Regions from separate parts of the Homo sapiens genome. Here region 2 is linked to region 1. The links are contacts of gene promoters, found by promoter capture Hi-C in blood cells and fetal thymus (Javierre and others, 2016). All regions are on one chromosome and are shown on one strand. The core of a region is centred on a gene start or on the middle of the fragment in contact, and the rest is flanking DNA. Distances in the headings are between cores, read along the strand shown. Region 1 holds the start of GLB1L3 (galactosidase beta 1 like 3). Region 2 overlaps GLB1L2 (galactosidase beta 1 like 2).

Region 1 (7,516 bases), core at 2,944-5,443:
GCAACACTGTGAGACCCCATCTCTACAAAAAATACAAAAATTAGCCTGGCATGATGGTGTGCACCTCTGGTCTCCCAAAGCGCTGGGATTACAGGTGTGAGCCACCACGCCCAGCCGAAAAAACAGAAGAATTTTTAAGCCTTCTAATATTTGGATATAGTTTTCCATGTTCCCATAGTTTATTTTATAGACCTGATGGTTTAGAAGCATTTCACTTTCCGCTTTGCTAGCCACGTGGTTATACTTTAATTTTAAGTGCATTTGTGTGCTTTTCCTGAAGCATTTTCACCTAGGCCATCTCACTTAGTTTGAACAAGAGCAGTGCTTCGCACGCGGCTGCTTGCTGAGCAGAGTCCAGCGAACCGAATTGGGCAATATGAGACTGAATCTTTCCATTCCAGGGCCTTCAGATCCCAGCTGTCAACAGCCTGCTGTGTGACGTCACTGAAAGCCTCTGTGCTCTAGTTTCCTCACTGATAAAGGAGGGATACTAATGGTACCCGCTTTCTGGTGCTGTGAGAGTTAAGAGACAATAGACAGAAATGTCAAACATGCAGAACTGTGCCTGGCACACGAGTGCTTGGTAAATGTCAGCTATTCATAACAGAGGAAAAAACCTGATGAAAATAAATCACTTTTGGATAAGGATTTTAATATTCTTACAGACACTCCCCATCCAGCTCTTAGCTCAATGGATCAGGTTATCTGCAAGGACAGCAGCCTCTTGCTGGGTGCCCCATGGAGACAGCGATCTTCCCTCCTCTCTTACCTTCTCAAGGGTGGCCCTTTTCCATCACCAAGGCTGCACTCATGCAGAGAGGAAGCCTTCCCCCCCGACCTGATCAGGCTGATTAACTTCAACTCCCAGGGGAGAAGACTCTTGAGAACACACTTTAACCTTGGGTTCTCACCTGGAGCTCCGCATGATTTTCCATTTCCTTAACTAATGAATGCATCTAGCAGACTCAGTCCATAAAAAAGGCACATTTGAATGATAACAGCCAGAGCCCGGTGGCCGAGCTGGGCTGCCGCCTGCTGAGCAGCTCCTTTAGAAAGGCCTGCACTTGAGCGTTAGTTACCCTGTGGAGGGACAGGAGGCCGGCTGCTTCACTTCCCTCTGCTGGGAGTGGCCCTGCGTGATGGGGTGCATATCCACTTCATTTATTTTTTAATCTGTGGGAGACAGGTTATCAATTTACTTAAAGTTTGAATGTCTGTAAGGATGAAATTTAAAGCTAGGGCTCTGAAGATCTCTAGCAGGGATGTATCTGTCATCTACCTATCCCTCCATCTCAGCCTGTGAACTGCGTGTCATCATGGGTTAAATTAATTACTAAGAGACCACGGAGTCCATTTTATAGCTCAAATGAGCATTTTTCATTTCCTGTAGTAAACATGACTTAAGTAAACAAAGAGTTTCTCTAACAAGGATGGCTTACAAGTAGAAGTGGCTAAATTTTCACTTTTATAAATTTTGCTGCTTTTTATTAACTATCAATAAACCTAGAAAGATGATCTTACAAGTAAACAACAGATTTTGCATACTTTAACCTTAAAGATATCTCTGCCTCAACTCTTTGTTCACAGCTCTCTGACACTGGAATATTAATAGTTGATAATCTTTCCCTTTAATTTTTCACTGATAATATTAGTTCCTAACCCAGGTTTTTGGATCTCACAAGGGTTCTTATTATACAGTTGTCACATACATTTCTTTAAGAAGTTCAACCTAAGAAGAAATCAAGAATTGTCTTTTCTGGTTCATACATTAACTCCTATAGGGTTGTCCACTACTAAAGCAACAGAAAGTGCTGCCTTCTTTTTCTGGAAGCTGCTGTTCTTACAAGAGAGCAATTTAGGAGCAGGAATTGTGCTTTATTAACATCAAAGCACTGGCACAGGAAGTTTGCACACTCAGCTCTGGGAGCTTTTTGATGCTTTCTGCCTGCTTTGGGAAATTAGCTCTTTGTTTCATTATCAGTTATCTGGATGGAAACTGAAGGGAAAAATATTGATTTTTTTTTTTTTTTTTAATAAATTGTACCAGGATGCTGGGTCTGCGGCCCTAGTGGCTGGTCTTTCCTGTGCTTGGGATGTTGGCCTTGTAGAGTTACTTCTGTAATCTCAAGACAGAAACTGACAGCTTTGTTTGATCAAAATTGTTACTTCACCTTGCACATTTTCAAGAGTTCTACAGGTTTAATGAGCACAGAAATCTGGGGGAACTTTCACTCTCCAGGGCTCCTTCATAGAGGTTCTCAAATACTCCATCAGCAGAGGGGAGCCCCAGATGGCAAAAGGACACAGGATATGTCATCTTTCAAATGAACCAATAATCCATTATTTGATTCTTCTACCTTTGTCAAAATTCCTCCAGCAACGCCTGCAGAAAATCACAATTCTTGATACATAGCTTGTTCCAATAAAGCACCACAGCATTTCTAGTGACTGCAGGCCCAGCTGTCAAACTCTTTCAACTTGATAGAGAATATGTACACAAAACCTATAGCTGTCATCATACTTAATAGTGAAAAACAGAATGTTTTCCAGCTGACACTGGGGACAAGGTAACAGTGTCAGTTCCTGCCGCTCTTATTCAACACAGAAATTTTAGTCATCATACTAAGACACACAAAAAAAGGAATAAAAAGCCACGCAGACTGGAAAGGTAGAAATAAAACTCTCCATATTTGCAGATGACATGATTATCTACATGGAAAATGCCAAGTAATACACAAATAACCTCTTAAAATTAATAGGTGAGTTTGCCAAGGTCACAGGATATGAGATCAACATGAGAAACACAATCACATTTCTGTATGCTAACAACAAACATGTAAAAACTGAAATAAAAATAATAACAGTTTAAATCTCTTGAGAGCAAAGGAAATATTTAAGTATAAACCTAACAAAACGTGATAGGATCTGATGTTGAAAAAATCACACAATTCTGATGAAAGAAGTGAAAAAAAAAAAACTATTTAAATAGACAGACATACCATGTTCGTGGGTTGGAAGATTCAACATAATAAGGATACAATTCTCAATTTGATCCATAGGTTGATTGCAATTCCTCTCGAAATACCAACATGGCTTTTTGTAGAAACAGACAAGTTTATTCTAAATTTTATGTGGGAAGGCACAAGCCCTAGAATACTTTAAACTTGACAAAGAAGAATAAAGTGTGTGGCTGTAAAACCAAACTGTAAAAAATTAACAGTTCATTGCTTGCAGTCGAAAAAATGAGGAAAAGATGGACGATCTAGGAAACTTTCAGGGAGCTAAGGTGTCGGAGAGCAAAGTATCCTTGTAAGGAATGAGACAAGATAAACTCCCTCCCCCACACACAGTATTTTCAGAGAACTACATTCTTGGTTTCAACCTGATGTCATAGGCTGTGTTCTTTGCAACGGAAGAAGCAAAGACTTCAAAGGGAGAAATCGGAAGATTTCTTTTTTCATCGTAGGGACTTCACATCAGCGTTTCCAAAACCGAGTCCATCGCCTTTTCCCTCTGCGCAGCCTCTATCCCTTCCTGTGTTTCGCATCTCAATAAACGTCCCCGCCAAGTGACTTCAGCCTGAAACATGCGGCCTCCCGGACTCCTCTCTGTGTCACCGACCTCTTGCGCTCAGTTCTCCGGAGCTGCCGGTTTAACCTCGCAAGTCTTCCCGGAACCCGTGCCCTCCTCCTGGGCAGCGTTACCACCACGAGCGCCTACCTGAGAGGACGCCTGTTCTCATCCAGCCTCCACCCTGCAGCCGAGCAATCTCCGTAAAACGAACACCTGGCTTAGTTTCTGCTGGAAACCGTTGAATAGTCCCCACTGTCTTCTGGAAGGGTCTGGGCAGCTCGGCGTGGCGTCCACGGCCCCACCAGGCCTCTGCCTCCTGCAGGTCCCGCTACTTCGTCACCAAAGCGCCCGCCGCGCTCGCATCTGCTGTGAGGCTGTGCTCGGGCCGCTCCCGCCGAGGGAACGGCCCTCCCAAGGCTCTGCGCCCCAATTCTCGCTCGTTTGCCAAGAGGTAGCCGTGTCGGGGAGCTAGAGTTCTCCGGGGACTCTCTCCTGCCCCTCGTGGCCCTCTGTGGAACCCTCGTTTTAGGATCTGCACGCCGTTTCCAGTCGCGCGCGCGGCACGGAGACCGCCCGCTGTGCCCCGCGCTGCGCTCTCTCCGCCCCTCTCCCGCGCAGGCCTCCCTGTGCCAGCCGGCTGTCGACCCAGGTTAGGAAGCCCGAGGTCGGGGCGTTACCCCAAGGGCCCTCCCGCTTCCCCTCCGAGGGCAGAGAGGCGTCCGCGCCCGGACGCACTGCGGGAACACCTGGAGCGCCGGCGGAGCTCGGCTGTCCCCGCGGGAGGGAGCCCGACGCGCATCCTTGGGACCCGGACCCGGCGCCCGCGCCTCGGGACGGATTTCTGCCTCGGCTGCAGGCGCAGCGCGCAGACCTGAGCCTGCCCCGCGGAACCGGGGCTCGAGTCCCGGCCCGAGCGCGGCGTCGGGGCCAGCGGAGAGGGGCGGAAGCCGCAAGGGACCCTCGGCGCCTCGGCCTGGCCGCGATGAAGTCCCCGCCCCTCCTCAGGTGACGGATCGCCGCTGCCGTCCCGGGCTGCCCACCACCCCGGCGCGTGCCCGGGAGCCTCCACCCTCCCCGGGTTCTGTGGCCGGCCACGCGCCCCAGGCACGCGCCGCGCCGGGCCGCGCCACCAAGCCCGCTGTCCCCAGCTTTCCTCGGCAGATCCCCTGGCTACCCCCACCCTGCGGAGGGGCCGTTCACCAGATGCCAGAAAATCAGGGTGGGGCACGCAGGCCAGGGGCTCCAGCGGCTGGGCACCGTGTCCTTCCCGAACCTGGTGCTGGAAGTGCGCCCGCCTCCGCCTCTCCCAGGCACCCACCGGCACTGCCCAGCCCTGTCTGGAGGGTCTAGGACTGAACGTCTGTCCCCGGCCTTCATCCTGGCTGCAGAGGACTGGCCGGGTGATGCCGCGCTGTCCTGGCCCTGGGCCCGCCTGGAAGACCCGCCTGTGTCGCGGGCCCCCTCCCTGGCTCTGGCCTCTAAAGCGCCCCCGGCACAGCTTCCCGGCCCTTGCAGCCCGGTGGGGCCGGAACCTTCCCCTTGTCACTGTTGTCCTTTCTCCTTTCAGCCCGTGTCTCTCCTGGAAGAGAATGGCGGGCATCTTTTTCCTGCCATTTATCTCATCAGGTTTTGCTCCTCGGTTTAAGCAGGAAGAGAACTTCATGCTTGGAAGAGCGCATCCGTCCCAGCCTAGGTTTGCTTGAGAGCTACATCCCTGGGGAGGGAGGGGAGCGATCTCTCCTTTCTTGGAGAAAATAGTATCGCGAATATGCACAGAACACGTCCTACTAACATATGCACAGAACACGTCCTACTAACATATGCACAGAACACGTCCTACTAACAAAAACTTCTTTTCGCTAGGGTTTCAGCCGTGCCTCCGAGCCCTCTCCCGAATCCTCTCTCCCTTTCCACTTTCTTTCCCTCGCCCGCCCCCTCCAGGTTTAATTGGTCTCATCTGACCCCTCTGGAGCTGAAGAATCGATCTGTGGGACTTGGAACTGAAAGCACAGGTCGGGGTAAGCCCCACTTCACACTGGAGGGCCACAAGTTCCTGATCTTCGGGGGCTCCATCCACTATTTCCGGGTGCCCAGGGAGTACTGGAGGGACCGCCTGCTGAAGCTGAAGGCCTGTGGCTTCAATACTGTCACCACGTGAGTGCCGGCCCCTCACCTCCAGGATCTCGTTACCCTACAAGTGCATCCTGGCCGGGAACCTGAGCCTCCGATTTTGGGGGCCCAGCGTGAGGACTTACCTTCCGCACAGTCGTTTCCAGCACATACATTTAATGCTTAAGCGTCCAGCTGTCACTTAGTCTCATGCTGAGTTTGCTCTGTGATCAAAGACTTGGATAGGGGTTAGTGGGAGAATCTCAAGGGAGGAGGTTATTTCCTCAGGATTCTGTCTGTCTAATGAAGGAACACCAGGCGCCCTTGGGAGCACTCAGTTTAATGACATAAGCTTAAGGCACACTTACAGATAAATATGTACTTACAGATACATGCATGTTTTTAAAACAAAAAAAAATTTTTTTTTTTGAGACACAGTTTGTTGTTCTGTTTGTTGCTCAGGCTGGAGTGCAGTGGCCCGATCTTAGCTCACGGCAGCTTCTACTTCTCTGGCTCAGGTGATCCTCCTGCCTCAGCCTCCTGAACAGCTGGGGCCACAGGTGCATGCCACCACACCAGGCTAATTTTTTGAATTGTTTGTAGAGATGGAGTTTCGCCATGTTGCCTGGGCTGGTCTCAAACTCCTGGACTCAAGCAGTTCACCCTTTAAAAGGGAACACCACGGTCGTCCTCATGCCTGTATACAACTGACCAGCCACCCTGTATGACCACAAAAAAGCAAAACTGCTCCAGAATCAGAGGCCCTGTCCTCCTGAGGGCCTGCCACCACCATTTTGTGGCAAGCTTACCATCACACTCACTGTAAAGGAGAAGATGCTTAGAGGGCCCTGTGCCTTATTGCAGAGCTGGTATTGAAGGGTGAATTTGAAGCTGAGAGGCAGTAAACTGGTTCATTTAAAATGCAAAGAATTTAATCAGAAATAATCGTTGAGTTTTATTGAGAGCTGCTACTGCATGTATTGGGGGGACAATATAGTTTTTCTTCACTGTTCTTTTGAATTGCTGAATTACAACGGCAATTTTTCTGATAGTCAAGCAGCCATGTGGTACTGGTATAAACTCTGCTTGGCTCTGAGATAGGCACACATTACATACACACAGATTGCTAGACTTTATTTGCTAGTGTTTTATTTCAAATGTGTTTATGATTATAAGCAAAACGGATTTAAAATTTTATTTTGTTAGTATTCTTGTCCAGTTTTGAATCAATCTTATAATAAGCTCATAAAGTGAGTAAATCTTCTTTTCTTACTTATTGGAAATATTTTGCACAAGAATTATCTTTACCCTGAAAGTTTCTTAAGATTCACCTGTAAACTCTGTGACTACTATCTTTTGTGGTTTGTGAGGTGAAGGGTTTGGGGACGACATAGCTCTTTGAATGGTTATTAACTCATGTCCTCTATTTCTTCTTGAATACATCCTGCTCTCCCCCTTTTTTTCTTTCCTTTCTTTTTTCTTTCTGTTTTCTTTTTCTTTTTTTTTTTTTTTTTTTTGAGATAGAGTCTTGCTCTGTTGCCCAGGCTGGAGTGCAGTGGCGCGATCTCTGCTCACTGCAACCTCCCCCTCCTGGGTTCAAGTGATTCTCCTGCCTCACCCTCCTGAGTAGCTGGGATTATGGCTCCCGCCACCACACCCGGCTAATTTTTGTATTTTTAGTAGAGATGGGGTTTCACCATATCGGTCAGGCTGGTCTCAAACTCCTGACCTCAGGTGATCCGCCTGCCTCGGCCTCCCAAAGTGCTGGGATTACAGATGTGAGCCACCTCGCCCAGCCTTCTTTCTTCTTTTGAACCCACTGGGACTTAAGAAA
Region 2 (7,516 bases), core at 2,175-4,674, 98 kb after region 1:
TCTTCTAAATTCCTGTGACCTTCTGGTGAGCAGCTCTGCAATAGGCGTCTCATGCCCTCCCCTCAGAATCAGCTCTTACCAGTGTGTGACAATGGCCCTTCTGAGTCAGCTCTGTGAGCCTTCAGGGGGCATTCATGTCTGCTCTGCCCACTGGCCCCTCGTCTGCCTACAGGCACGCGTGCTGCCCTTCTTGGCCTGGAGGAGGTCCCGCTTACCCTCCTCCTGTTGGTCATGGATGTTCCTGCCTGTTCCCTTTGGCAGGTGTTTGTGAACACAGTATCCATAGGATTCTTGGACTACAAGACAACGAAGATTGCTGTCCCCCTGATCCAGGTTCGTTGTTTTTGGGAGCTGGGTGATGGCTAGCCCCCGCTGCTTCGAGGAAGTCTGGGGGCAGTCACTGAGGAAAACCTGGGAGACCCGTGGCTCCTTACCCACAAGCTGTAGGTGGAGAGGGCGAGTGTGGCTTTCTGCCCAGCTGGGATGTACACTCCCATCCCCAGAGCGTAGGGAAGAACTGGGGTCCACAAGCAAATTCTGAGGGGCAGCTGTGGCCTTCTGACAGTCATCGTTAGCCCCGTGTTCCCGGCAGGGTTACACCGTGCTGAGGATCTTGGTGGAGAATCGTGGGCGAGTCAACTATGGGGAGAATATTGATGACCAGCGCAAAGGTGGGTCCCAGAATGTGTCAAAAGAAGAGTGGCCATGCTGGACACACAGGTGGCTATTGCTTCTCTATGCTAGCAGGCCACCAGGCCATGGAGGCCTCTTGCAGGGAGGTGGAGGCTGGGTTGTCCCATACATGAGGCCAGTTCTGAGTGGGCCAGAGAAACTCCGCTGGGCTGTGGCCCCTGTCCTGTTAGCACTGCACGCGTGCATCGTCTGCGTGCTCGTGATAAACACTGTGAACACTGAGCTGGCCTCTTGTCTCCCCTGGGCTGCAGTCGGTTTCTGCAAGGATGTCTGCTTGGGGGGGCGGCAGTGAGGAGCAATGAATGTGATTTCCAGGAATCCAAGGAAAGGCACAAGACCCCTGCCTTCTTGGGCCTCCACACTGAAGTTCTCTTCTTGATCCATCTTGGGAAAGCTTATCTCAGATGTTGGGGGAGGAGGATGCGGGACATACAGCAAACAAAACACCTGTTGGTAGCGTACCCCTCTGGGAATAGGCCGCCAATTTGCTTTATGTTTCCTGGCCTACTAAATCTTTTATGCTTTAATTTAGCCCTTCCTTTTTTTTTTTGAGACGGAGTCTCGCTCTTTCACCCAGGCCAGACTGCAGTGGTGCAATCTCGGCTCACTGCATGCTCCACCTCCCGGGTTCATGCCATTCTCCTGCCTCAGCCTCCCGAGTAGCTGGGACTACAGGCGCCCGCCACCGTGCCCAAATTTAGCCCTTCCTTTTTAAAAAAAATCTAGCTAAATGTGGGTGGTTTCAGGTAAGTTATAAAAAAAGAACTCAGAACAAAATGAATGCGACTGTGGTGAGCAGCACCGGTGACCTCCCAGCTCTCTCACGGTGTCTGCGTTTGTGACGGAGGAAACTTGAAGAGCTCTTATTGGTCCACATTTCCTCCGAGAGCCGTCTGGTGGCCTGCCAGGAAAGCCACGTGGCCCAGACACTGGGGCCTGGATCCTGGGGATCAGGGCCCTTCTAGATGGGCCTCAGAGCGGCATCTAGCACCACCCAGGCCCACACTCCTTTACCCTAGACAGCTCCCTCTCTGGGCCTGTCCTCACTTCTGTTGTTCTCCTGGGAGTTGGAAGGAGCACCAGCCTGACCATTGTTCCTAACTTTGCTTCCCTGAGCCCTTGTTGAGGGTCCCCTGGGCCCACACTGTGGAGTCCTGTCCTCTGGATCACAGTTCAATGTTTATAAGTCACAGACCTCCCTTGAGAAATGCGCGTGCCCACATAGACCCGCACCTGCCATTTCGGAGTCTGTAGGCCCTGCAAAGCCTCTCCACAGTCCTCGGCCTCCAAATTCCCAAGCTAGCCACTCAGCAGCTCTGTAATCTGAGACTGGCAGGGCTGGCCCGGCCCCGGGACACTGATGAGTGGCTCCTCAAGAGGACACATCTCTTCCCTGTTGGATGCCCGAGGGAGGGTGCCATCTGCTCACAGTCCAAACACTCCTAATGCACAGCTTTAATCCTAGGTGGCAGAGATGATTCTGGCTGAGTTATTAGGTCTGTGTAGCTTGGGCCCCACTGAAACTGGCCCTGCAGCTAGGCCAGAACCCTCTCGGTCATCTGGAACTTCCTTCAGAGAGAGGCCAGAGGTTGTTCTCGCCCTGTAACACCTCAGCTCTATATCCTTCCCATGGCAAATCTTAGGGTCTTCCTCCTTCCCGTCCCCCACAGAATTGCTAGGGAGCTTTGCTTGCAAGCGAACGGCTTCCCAGGGAGCGTACACTTCAGTACCCCTCACCCCAGCTTCTCAGGGAGCGTACACTTCAGCACCCCTCACCCCAGCTTCCCAGGGCTTCCCCTCGTGGCCCCGGCCCAGCTGACTCGGCCCCTGCCTTTGGGCTACCCACGTGTCCTGCCTCCCTCCCACAGGCTTAATTGGAAATCTCTATCTGAATGATTCACCCCTGAAAAACTTCAGAATCTATAGCCTGGATATGAAGAAGAGCTTCTTTCAGAGGTGGGTCCCTGCCCAGCACCAGCCCTTGCACTCACAGGTATAGTGCTGTGTGGTGGGGCCCAGGGGTCCCTGGTGCACCGTGGCCTGGCCCGCACCCAGGTGTGAACGCCTCCAGGGGCCAGATCGGCTGGCCGAGGTGAGGGGTGGCACCCGCACTAGAAGCCGCATTTGCAGACTAGGAATTCCCAGCATCCTACCGTGCTGCCATTCTGTGTCCTGGTTAAGAGGCGGGGGGCCTTGGATGGGGAAACGGTGTCAGGGCCTTTTATTTTGCTTTATTGTGCTGGTGGATTGAGAAGGGCCTCCTCCCTCTCCTTCTCTGTGTTCTGTCCTTAGGTTCGGCCTGGACAAATGGAGTTCCCTCCCAGAAACACCCACATTACCTGCTTTCTTCTTGGGTAGCTTGTCCATCAGCTCCACCCCTTGTGACACCTTTCTGAAGCTGGAGGTTGGTAACGCCCTTTTCCCTGCCAGTTTCTCCCACCTGCCTCCCGCCTTGGAGGGCTCTGAGCCAAAGCCACGAGCTTGGCGAGAGTCGTTGGTGGCTTCTGTGCCCAGAGGGTCTGAGAGGGCCGCTGGGGCCTCCCTGGGCCAGAGGAGTGGGTTCCCAGCAGAAGAAACACCTCATGCACTAGGGGGACAGGAAATAGAGCATCCCACCTGCCCACCCTCATGGCTGTCCAGACACAGCTCGCTTTGGTCTCCTGGACCTGAGAGAAGCACGCATGCATGTCTCCCTCCACTTTTGCTGTGGCTCTCGTGGTAGATGAACACCCTTCCCCTCTGTTTCAAGGGCTGGGAGAAGGGGGTTGTATTCATCAATGGCCAGAACCTTGGACGTTACTGGAACATTGGACCCCAGAAGACGCTTTACCTCCCAGGTCCCTGGTTGAGCAGCGGAATCAACCAGGTGGGAGCTTCCAGCCCCTTCCTGTTCCCCATGACGCCCTGCCCACCTGCCGTCCCAGGGAGCCTTCGGTCAGGGTGGAGGGGCGTGTCAGCGGGTTCTTCCTCCCTCCTCCTCGCTGCAGACGAGTTGTTGGTCCCTGTCCCTTCCAGCCTGGTTCCCAAACCCTTTCCTTCTGACCCTGCCACCTCTCAGCACCTCCCCTGGCTCCAGGACAGACGTCAGCTGCCCTCCCAGCCGGGCCCTCTCTCCACAGGTCATCGTTTTTGAGGAGACGATGGCGGGCCCTGCATTACAGTTCACGGAAACCCCCCACCTGGGCAGGAACCAGTACATTAAGTGAGCGGTGGCACCCCCTCCTGCTGGTGCCAGTGGGAGACTGCCGCCTCCTCTTGACCTGAAGCCTGGTGGCTGCTGCCCCACCCCTCACTGCAAAAGCATCTCCTTAAGTAGCAACCTCAGGGACTGGGGGCTACAGTCTGCCCCTGTCTCAGCTCAAAACCCTAAGCCTGCAGGGAAAGGTGGGATGGCTCTGGGCCTGGCTTTGTTGATGATGGCTTTCCTACAGCCCTGCTCTTGTGCCGAGGCTGTCGGGCTGTCTCTAGGGTGGGAGCAGCTAATCAGATCGCCCAGCCTTTGGCCCTCAGAAAAAGTGCTGAAACGTGCCCTTGCACTGGACGTCACAGCCCTGCGAGCATCTGCTGGACTCAGGCGTGCTCTTTGCTGGTTCCTGGGAGGCTTGGCCACATCCCTCATGGCCCCATTTTATCCCCGAAATCCTGGGTGTGTCACCAGTGTAGAGGGTGGGGAAGGGGTGTCTCACCTGAGCTGACTTTGTTCTTCCTTCACAACCTTCTGAGCCTTCTTTGGGATTCTGGAAGGAACTCGGCGTGAGAAACATGTGACTTCCCCTTTCCCTTCCCACTCGCTGCTTCCCACAGGGTGACAGGCTGGGCTGGAGAAACAGAAATCCTCACCCTGCGTCTTCCCAAGTTAGCAGGTGTCTCTGGTGTTCAGTGAGGAGGACATGTGAGTCCTGGCAGAAGCCATGGCCCATGTCTGCACATCCAGGGAGGAGGACAGAAGGCCCAGCTCACATGTGAGTCCTGGCAGAAGCCATGGCCCATGTCTGCACATCCAGGGAGGAGGACAGAAGGCCCAGCTCACATGTGAGTCCTGGCAGAAGCCATGGCCCATGTCTGCACATCCAGGGAGGAGGACAGAAGGCCCAGCTCACATGTGAGTCCTGGCAGAAGCCATGGCCCATGTCTGCACATCCAGGGAGGAGGACAGAAGGCCCAGCTCACATGTGAGTCCTGGCAGAAGCCATGGCCCATGTCTGCACATCCAGGGAGGAGGACAGAAGGCCCAGCTCACATGTGAGTCCTGGCAGAAGCCATGGCCCATGTCTGCACATCCAGGGAGGAGGACAGAAGGCCCAGCTCAGTGGCCCCCGCCCCCCACCCCCCACGCCCGAACAGCAGGGGCAGAGCAGCCCTCCTTCGAAGTGTGTCCAAGTCCGCATTTGAGCCTTGTTCTGGGGCCCAGCCCAACACCTGGCTTGGGCTCACTGTCCTGAGTTGCAGTAAAGCTATAACCTTGAATCACACCCCCTCTGGTGATAGTCTCTGGTCATGTGTGCCACTCTTGCCAGAAGGGAAGGCTGTCTGAGAGCTTGGTTTTCTTGGTCAGGTTCCCATTGGGCCCCACTTGCCGCCTGGGGGTCCAGATGGGGACCGTCCCTGGGGTGGGTGGGCCATGATCCTGGCCTCATATTCCCCTCCTGACCCCGACTTCCCTTCAAATGTCTCTGGATTGGAAGTGCCCTGGAGAGGACAGTTCAAATGCAAATTCATTCTCATGCTGGTGGGCGGGGGTAAGAATCTGCCAGGCAGTCAAGGGCGCTCCATATGAGTTAACTGCGGGGTTGAGTTTTGCTTCACAAACTACATCTGGCATCTACTGCCAAAACCAAATTATCTCCAGTAAGAGTCAGAAAGTCAAGTAGCACACACATCCCCGGCACAGCGAGAGCTCTGGGAGCCCCGTGAAGGTGGGCTGGGGGATGGTGAGCCGTGGAGCTCACTGAGGCCAGCAGGCTTGCTGCCCGTGTGTGGCTGCCCAGGGGGAGTGCAGGGGACATTCGTGGTGTGCAGCCCAGCAGCTGAGCCGGGTCAAGGGCTTATTAAATGGAGCTTATTAAAGGAAAGCTTGTGGACAGTGGCTTGGGAACAACATGGGGCAGAGTCCCTGGTTTTGCCCAAACTCACCAGTTCTTCTGGAACTGCCTCGGAACGACAAGCATGGGGCTAAGATGTGGATGAGACTCGGGCTACTTGGGTGTGGCCTGAGCCACCTGCAGGGTCTTCTGCCCCGCTTTACCTGAGTGTGTGCTTCTGCAGAGCTGTGTATGAGCTGGTTCCGTCAGAAAGTGATGGAATGGAAGGGAACCTTCCTGCAAATCCTCCTGTAAGGTGGAGAAGCCCCTTGGATCACACTTCCACGCAGACCTGAGCAGGACACACTGTGGTTTCCTAAGGTGAGGTCTTCCTACACCAGCTTCTTATTCTCACCCTTATTTTCTGCCAGTTAATTGCTCAGCTTCTCTATCAAAGTACCTCTTGGCAGAGCTTATTCTCCAGCGTTGACTAAAGATGTTTCCATTATCTTCCACACGGTATGGCCTCATCTAGGTCTCTTTGGAGAATCCCTCTTCATATCCAGCCTCTGAATGCTGGGGGTCTCTGGCCCACTCCTTGGGCTGTTTCTTTCCTCTGTCCACACTCACTGCATAGGGTCTCACCCGTGCACCTGTGGTTTGTAAACAGGTTGGACACCCGCGCCCGCCGATGCTGGGCTGCACCTGAGCTCCAGGTGTGTGGGGGCGCATTTTCTTCTGCATGTGTCTAACAGGCACCTGACACAGAGCTCCATTTCCCCACATTACCCCTCCTGCACGCAGCCCTGTATCTGGAAATGGCAGTGCTGTTCTGTGTCTCGGGCTATTTTGGACCCCTCTCTTTATCTCCCACATCCAATCCAGCAGCAGATCCTCCTGGCTCTGCCTCCTAAACTTGGCCAAAATTTGACTGCTTCTCTCTGCCCCAACCCCATGCCCCCACTCAGCCCACTGCATCTTGGCCTGGATGATTCCAGGAGCCACGTCTCCACCTGCCCTTGCCCTCTCCATTTATCCTCCGTGGAGGAGCAGGGCAGTTCTTCTTAGAGATGGATAGATTATGTTAGTCCTCCGTACTGGACCCCCTATTGCCTTCTGGTTTCACCCGGTGCCTGGGGACTCCCTTCTCCCACGCCCACCACATCCCTCACTGCTGTTGCCCCCAGCAGCCCCCGCCCCGTCAGTTGAGCCCGATGGCCTTCCTGCTGATCTGTAAGCAGGCTGAGCAACGCTTGTTCCGCCTGGTGGAGAGTTCGTTCTTCTTGGGCCCGGGGAGCTGCATGTCAGGGTGTTGCTGCTTCGCTCAAGGGTCACTTATCACGGAGGCCTCTGTGGTCACCCTACAGAGCACTGACCCTCTCCACTGCTACCTCTGTCTCCCCGACTCACCCTCATCCTCCATACAACAGATTGCATCTGAAATAATATGCATTCGTTATTGCCTGTCTCCTCTCGTCAGTGGGTCAGTTCTTTGAAAATGAGAGCCTTGTTTTCTCACTGCTGTGTGTCGGCTCCTAGAATGATGCCTGTTCATAACAGGCACCTGATACATACTTGTTGGGTAGCTAAATTAATAAATGAGAACAAAATAAGGCAGGGCTGAAGAGGATTAGGACTGTTAAAAACTGTATTTGACTTTTAATTTTGAAAGCAAATTAAATACAGTTAAATTAAAACAGACCAGATGCAGCTGCCTGGGTGCCACCCTCACCCCAGCCTCTGTTCTTAGAACTCCTAGCCCCTGGCCTCACTCCTGTGTGGTGGGGCTTGCCAGCGAGGGA

What was found. Contacts are between HindIII fragments. The CHiCAGO score rates a contact against its expected background, and 5 or more counts as called.
Region 2: a contact is called between a fragment that was not itself captured here and the fragment with the promoter of GLB1L3 in region 1, in 1 of 17 cell types (naive CD4 T cells). The highest score is 5.5, in naive CD4 T cells.

Annotation. Positions count from the first base shown.
Region 1 is chr11:134,272,186-134,279,701 of GRCh38, forward strand. It overlaps GLB1L3 (galactosidase beta 1 like 3), which reads left to right and starts at 4,194. Exons shown (of 20, transcript NM_001080407.3): 1 at 4,194-4,578; 2 at 5,141-5,266; 3 at 5,515-5,727. The coding sequence starts at 4,556. RefSeq lists enhancers at 657-1,212, 3,353-3,462, 3,523-3,652, 3,803-3,852 and a silencer at 4,303-4,372. The HindIII fragment of the contact is 7,995 bases long and covers 1-6,032 here.
Region 2 is chr11:134,371,160-134,378,675 of GRCh38, forward strand. GLB1L2 (galactosidase beta 1 like 2) reads left to right here. Exons shown (of 19, transcript NM_001370461.1): 14 at 262-333; 15 at 593-671; 16 at 2,562-2,649; 17 at 2,986-3,097; 18 at 3,443-3,559; 19 at 3,813-5,165. The coding sequence ends at 3,899. It overlaps B3GAT1 (beta-1,3-glucuronyltransferase 1), which reads right to left. Exons shown (of 6, transcript NM_054025.3): 6 at 7,349-7,516. LOC124902798 (a long non-coding RNA gene) reads left to right here and starts at 5,637. Exons shown (of 2, transcript XR_007062961.1): 1 at 5,637-6,095; 2 at 6,905-7,182. RefSeq lists an enhancer at 5,302-6,201. The HindIII fragment of the contact is 4,679 bases long and covers 1,086-5,764 here.